Linked DNA regions of Homo sapiens: region 1 is linked to region 2. Evidence: promoter capture Hi-C in 16 types of primary human blood cells and fetal thymus (Javierre and others, 2016). All regions are on one chromosome and are shown on one strand. Each heading gives the region's core, a stretch centred on a gene start or on the middle of the fragment in contact. The rest is flanking DNA. Distances are from core to core; before and after follow the strand shown.

Region 1 (3,245 bases), core at 355-2,854, 160 kb before region 2:
AACCTGCACAACTGTTCATAGCAACCCTGAATCCTTGGTAACCCAGAAACAGAATAGGCATGGGAGAAGTAGGAGACAGAACAGACTGGTTAGGGATAACGAGCTTACCCCTGAGAATCCAGGGCAAGGCTGTTGCATGGAGGAGGCAGGGTGAAATTTAGGAAGCTCCTTGACCATCCTACCTTTTCTCCCCATCACTTGCAGGTACCACTGTGTCCCGCCGCGTGGGCCCCCCAGTCTCTCTTGAACGCCGCAGCAGCAGCTCCAGCAGCATCAGCTCTGCCTATACTGTCAGCCGCCGCTCCTCCCTGGCCTCTCCTTTCCCCCCTGGCTCCCCACCAGAGAATGGAGCATCCTCCCTGCCTGGCCTTATGCCTGCCCAGCACTACCTGCTTCGGGCAAGATATGCTTCAGCCAGAGGGGGTGGTACTTCGCCCACTGCAGCATCCAGCCTGGATCGGATAGGTGGTCTTCCCATGCCTCCTTGGAGAAGCCGAGCCGAGTATCCAGGATACAACCCCAATGCAGGGGTCACCCGGAGGGCCAGTGACCCAGCCCAGGCTGCTGACCGTCCTGCTCCAGCTAGAGTCCAGAGGTTCAAGAGCCTGGGCTGTGTCCATACCCCACCCACTGTGGCAGGGGGAGGACAGAACTTTGATCCTTACCTCCCAACCTCTGTCTACTCACCACAGCCCCCCAGCATCACTGAGAATGCTGCCATGGATGCTAGAGGGCTACAGGAAGAGCCAGAAGTTGGGACCTCCATGGTGGGCAGTGGTCTGAACCCCTATATGGACTTCCCACCTACTGATACTCTGGGATATGGGGGACCTGAAGGGGCAGCAGCTGAGCCTTATGGAGCGAGGGGTCCAGGCTCTCTGCCTCTTGGGCCTGGTCCACCCACCAACTATGGCCCCAACCCCTGTCCCCAGCAGGCCTCATATCCTGACCCCACCCAAGAAACATGGGGTGAGTTCCCTTCCCACTCTGGGCTGTACCCAGGCCCCAAGGCTCTAGGTGGAACCTACAGCCAGTGTCCTCGACTTGAACATTATGGACAAGTGCAAGTCAAGCCAGAACAGGGGTGCCCAGTGGGGTCTGACTCCACAGGACTGGCACCCTGCCTCAATGCCCACCCCAGTGAGGGGCCCCCACATCCACAGCCTCTCTTTTCCCATTACCCCCAGCCCTCTCCTCCCCAATATCTCCAGTCAGGCCCCTATACCCAGCCACCCCCTGATTATCTTCCTTCAGAACCCAGGCCTTGCCTGGACTTTGATTCCCCCACCCATTCCACAGGGCAGCTCAAGGCTCAGCTTGTGTGTAATTATGTTCAATCTCAACAGGAGCTACTGTGGGAGGGTGGGGGCAGGGAAGATGCCCCCGCCCAGGAACCTTCCTACCAGAGTCCCAAGTTTCTGGGGGGTTCCCAGGTTAGCCCAAGCCGTGCTAAAGCTCCAGTGAACACATATGGACCTGGCTTTGGACCCAACTTGCCCAATCACAAGTCAGGTTCCTATCCCACCCCTTCACCATGCCATGAAAATTTTGTAGTGGGGGCAAATAGGGCTTCACATAGGGCAGCAGCACCACCTCGACTTCTGCCCCCATTGCCCACTTGCTATGGGCCTCTCAAAGTGGGAGGCACAAACCCCAGCTGTGGTCATCCTGAGGTGGGCAGGCTAGGAGGGGGTCCTGCCTTGTACCCTCCTCCCGAAGGACAGGTATGTAACCCCCTGGACTCTCTTGATCTTGACAACACTCAGCTGGACTTTGTGGCTATTCTGGATGAGCCCCAGGGGCTGAGTCCTCCTCCTTCCCATGATCAGCGGGGCAGCTCTGGACATACCCCACCTCCCTCTGGGCCCCCCAACATGGCTGTGGGCAACATGAGTGTCTTACTGAGATCCCTACCTGGGGAAACAGAATTCCTCAACTCTAGTGCCTAAAGAGTAGGGAATCTCATCCATCACAGATCGCATTTCCTAAGGGGTTTCTATCCTTCCAGAAAAATTGGGGGAGCTGCAGTCCCATGCACAAGATGCCCCAGGGATGGGAGGTATGGGCTGGGGGCTATGTATAGTCTGTATACGTTTTGAGGAGAAATTTGATAATGACACTGTTTCCTGATAATAAAGGAACTGCATCAGAAAAAATACCATGCCACTTTATGTATTATTATGTTGGGGAGGAATGATAACAGGGAACAAGAAGAGAAGCAGGGGTTAATCCACTCACTTTCCTCTTTAGAGAAGCTCCCTCACCCATCCCAACACCTCAAGTCACACTCATGAAGATAGAGACAGTCATTTGGGAGATTTAAAGGGATATCCTCAAAACAGAACACCAGCCTCTCACCACCAGAGATGACCGGAAATATGTTTTCTCTTCTTCCTTCCCTGCATCAGGGGAAGAGGCTGGTGAAGTTGGTGAGCATCAGCTGGACCAGCTGCCCTGGGTAGAGAGCATGGGCTGCTGGGTCAGATGTCTCCTGCTCTGGCCGAAACAGGGTTGGTCCAAACACAATTCCCAGGTTGTGGGGTGTCATGCGATTCTTATCTGAGTGTGCTATCACCCTGTAAGCAAAGGCCAAGGAAGGGGATATATGGCAGCAGCTTGCCACTTCATAGCAATCTAACTAACCCTTCAAAGTTCTGAGCAGGGAAGAGTTCACTCTGGGATTCCTCCACATGGTAACAAAAAAACCAAGGAGATACAAGGAGAATGGAGATGGACCAGTGGAGAAACCTTCAGGATACAACCTGAAGATATAACTGCCTCTTCCGACTTCAGGGGCTGCCCCAAGAGTTCTGCCTGCTCACAGTTTGGGAGTCTTTAATTCAAGTGGCCATCCTCTCTCAGAAGTCACTGCCCAGGCCCAGTTCAACCAAAGAAGCCATCAGCAATGTCCCAATGGGAGACAAAGAGGCAGAGGGAAGGGAGAAGTAAGATTTCCCTTATTCCTTTCACAGCATCTTGGTTCCATTTCCCCACTTGATGCTGACCTTTAGGTTTTGACCTAAAGTCTTTGACGGGCACGGTGTAATCCCAGCACTTTGGGAGGCTGAGGTGGGTAAATCACCTGAGGTCAGGAGTTCGAGACCAGCCTGGCCAACATGGTGAAACCCCGTCTCTACTAAAAATACAAAAATTAGCCAGGCGTGGTGGCGGGCACCTGTAATCCCAGTTACTCAGGAGGCTGAGGCAGGAGAATTACTTGAACCCGGGAGGCAGAGGTTGCAGTG
Region 2 (3,484 bases), core at 361-2,860:
ATTTCAGGAGCTGCCTACCCACCAACCAGGACCCCACCTGGAGTCTCTTCTCATACCTGAATCAGGACCTCAGGGAGTCTTTCAGGGCCCTCCCTTGACTGCACAACCTCCCACGCCCATCCCCATCCTTATCCCCATGGCAAGGTTCAGGGAGAACAGATTTTCCCCAGCCCAAGCCTCAGCAGCCTCCCACTTCCACCTCCCACTTCACTCCACACAGCCCGTTAGGAGAATGCAGGCATCTGAGCCCAGCAGTGGAGAAAACAAAAGCCCCCAGACCACCCCCAGCGAGCGCTGCGCTGCGCCGCCGCGGTCGGCACTCACCCCACTACTTGCTCCTTGATCCTGACCGGGATGTGTGCGTAGCGGGGCTCAGGAGCAAGATCTGGCAGCTCGGGCCTGCGGGGGCTTTGCGGGGGCGCCCACGGCGCAAGAGGTAGCCGGAGGCCGGGCGCGTCCCGGGTGCTCGCGTACAGGAGCCCCAGCGAGGCGCAGGCGAGCAGAAGGACCAGAGCGCACAGGGCCCGGCGGCCCAGCCACATCCTAGGTGGGGGTAGGGTGGGGAGTGAGAAAGGGAGGGAAGAAGGGAGGGCAAGGGATGGGGCCCTTGGCCCCCGCGTCCTCAGAGGCTCCTGCCGGCTCCCAAGAGCGCTCTCCACTCCACACATCGCGCTAGGGTTTGCACTGCCAGCCGCGGTTTTCCCGGTACCCCTCCCCTCACTTCCCAGGCCCCAGGGTCTCCCGGCCTCCTTTCTTCTCGCCCTCTCCTGCATCTCGGTTTCCTCACACACCCGAGGCCTGGCATCTTAATGCTGAAGACATTTGGATGCCGCGGTTTCGACGCGGCCGTGCGTAAGCGGAAAAGCCCCGCTCTATCAGGGCAGTGGCAGTCCCCAAGCCCGCCGCCCGCCCTGGCCGGCGCGCCCCCGACTCCTCAGTCTGAGCATCACCTGGGCCGGGGTGGGCTGCGGAGGGCGGCTCCACACCTAGCCTGTCAGGAAAAAATGCAGAATCATGCCCGTGCTGGCGGGCGCCCCCGGCGGAGGTGACCCGATGAGTGGCCTCGGCAAGCGGCGCGGGGGACAGAGTGGACCGGGAAGCGCGCCTCCTCCCGCCTCCTCCCGCCTCCTCCTCCTCCCCTCACCAACCAATCCCACCCCCACCCACCCCCGGGCACTGACCTGTCTAACGCTCTAAGGCAGCGGCAAAATTTCGGTCCGGGCTGTGCCGGGCTCTCGCCCCGGCCTGAGGGTCCTCATGGGGCTGGGGGCTGCCCGATGGGGGAGCTGGGCATGAGCCTGAGGGTGTGGGGGACCCTCCTGCCTCTGGAGCGCGCCCGATCCCTCCCGTCTTGGAACTCCCGGGGCTTTTGTGGAGCGCGGCGCGGTGGTGGTTCTGGGCGTTTCCTGCCCGGGGGCGGTTGGCGGGGCGCGAGGACCAAGTTAAGAGTCTGTTGCACCCCAGCCCCGGGGCAAAGCCGGGGATCCCTGGCTCCGCGTCCCACTGGCAGCGCGGGGAGGGCTCTGGCCGCCGCCCGGCTCTTCGCACCGCAGCGCAGCGCGGCTCAGCTCCCGGCTCGTTGCGGCTGCTTCGGCTCCGCGCGGGGAATGCGAGCGCCCCGGCGCCTTCTAGTGGGCGCGGAGGAAACTGCGGGGGCGCGGAGCAAACGCGGGAAGGTCCTCGCTCACAGCCCCCAGTCCTTAGCCTCCAAACACTGGCATCTCAACCGCCTGCTCCCACGACATCCATTCCATTGCCTGCTCGTTCTGAGCTTGTAGGCAAGGATGGGCAAATAAGGGCTTTGGGAGGAGGTAGGGCGGGGGCGCGCTAAAACTCAAGTCAAGTTTGAATGTTAGGATGAAGATAAAGGAAACAACCCCTGGAAAATAAACGCTCTGCCTGGCTAACAAAGACTGAGGCACAGCCTCCCTCTCCCCCTCCTCCCCGCCCTGCCCCCCATTATTTAACAGACACTCAAGAGATACACACTGGGTAATTGAAGGCCCTATTTCCCCGAACTGCCGCTTGGTGCAACCTTGCAGGAGGAAGGGAACCCCAGAGAGGCCAGATTGGCGGTAGTTCTGCTTGCAAGCCTTAGGTCATAGCCTGATACCTCACATTGCCGAGAATCGGAGTTCTGTGGCTCCGTGGTTCTAATAAAAGATGCATCAAGATTCAATAGGAAAAAAAGATATAACAAGAAATATAGAACATAACGAAAATATGTGTGTGTGTGTGTGTGTGGTGGATTATTGAATGAATGAATTTTATACAAACAAATGACTAATCAGCTGGGGTGAAAGTGGAATCTCTACACTTCTTACACCAAAATTCCAAATGTATTAAATATTTTAATATTAAAGGTGAAATCATAAAAGTAGTGAAAGAAATCATGAAACCCGGCGCAGTGGCTCATGCTTGTAATCTCAGCACTTTGGGAGGCTGCGATAGGAGACCAGGAGTTCGAGACCAGCCTGGGCAACATGGTGAGACCCCCCCCCCCCCCCGTCTCTACAAAAAATTTAAAAATTAGCCCAGCAAGATGGCTCACACCTGTAGTCCAACTACTTAGGAGGCTGAAGTGGGAAGATTGCTTGAGCTCGGGAAGTTGAAGCTGCAGTGAGCTGAGATGGTGCCATGGCACTGTAGCCTGGGTGACAGAGCGAGACTCTGTCTCAAAAGAAGAAATCATGGAATTTTTGTTTTGTTTATGATCTTGGAGTAGGGAAGAGATCTCTAAGCCAGATGTAAAGGGAAATATTAATAAATCTGACTATATGAAAAACTTGAGTGAAGAAATTAACATACACTAAATTTGAGAGAGAAATGACAAACTGTGAAAAAATATTTGTAACATATAAGACAGGTATACTTTATCTGGTTGGTGCCCCCAGCGGAGATGACCAGGAATGAATTATGAACCATTGAAAACATAGGAATCCATGACTCCACACTGATAATACATAGATAATTAATTAATTAATTAATTAAATGAATGAAGGAGAAGGGAGAATGCCAATTAATAAATGTGGAGGGAGCTGATGGAGTTGGAAAATAACTATTTTTTAAAATTTTATTTTATTATTATTATACTTTAAGTTTTAGGGTACATGGGCACAATGTGCAGGTTAGTTACATATGAATACATGTGCCATGCTGGTGTGCTGCACCCATTAACTCGTCATTTAGCATTAGGTATATCTCCTAAAGCTATTCCTCCCCCCTCCCCCCATGAAAATAACTATTTTGCAACCATCAGAGTAAAAGTTGGTTTGGGCAAGAATTATCAATGAATGCTAATTCTAGGGGGAAAGTTTGACAGAAGCAGCTTATGTACGTAGCTTAAAGTATCTCCCCATAGTTGGCTTATTCGTTGCAAGAGGAAAAATTGTAACCGCGCAGTGGGAAAAGCAGACAGCACCTTGACTTGCTGGCCAAAATTAACATCACCAATGAGGGACAGAAGAATATCATGTGCCTCCAG

What was found. Contacts are between HindIII fragments. The CHiCAGO score rates a contact against its expected background, and 5 or more counts as called.
Region 1: a contact is called between a fragment that was not itself captured here and the fragment with the promoter of B4GALNT1 in region 2, in 5 of 17 cell types (total CD4 T cells, naive B cells, total CD8 T cells and 2 more). The highest score is 7.4, in total CD4 T cells.

Annotation. Positions count from the first base shown.
Region 1 is chr12:57,470,113-57,473,357 of GRCh38, forward strand. It overlaps GLI1 (GLI family zinc finger 1), which reads left to right. Exons shown (of 12, transcript NM_005269.3): 12 at 205-2,156. The coding sequence ends at 1,949. ARHGAP9 (Rho GTPase activating protein 9) reads right to left here. Exons shown (of 18, transcript NM_032496.4): 18 at 2,157-2,576. The coding sequence ends at 2,405. Among named protein-coding and RNA genes, the nearest start is that of ARHGAP9, 8.1 kb to the right of the region's middle. The HindIII fragment of the contact is 4,786 bases long and covers 1-3,245 here.
Region 2 is chr12:57,631,591-57,635,074 of GRCh38, forward strand. It overlaps B4GALNT1 (beta-1,4-N-acetyl-galactosaminyltransferase 1), which reads right to left and starts at 1,611. Exons shown (of 11, transcript NM_001478.5): 1 at 1,182-1,611; 2 at 325-543. The coding sequence starts at 542. RefSeq lists an enhancer at 841-1,802 and a silencer at 1,345-1,644. The HindIII fragment of the contact is 8,071 bases long and covers 1-3,484 here.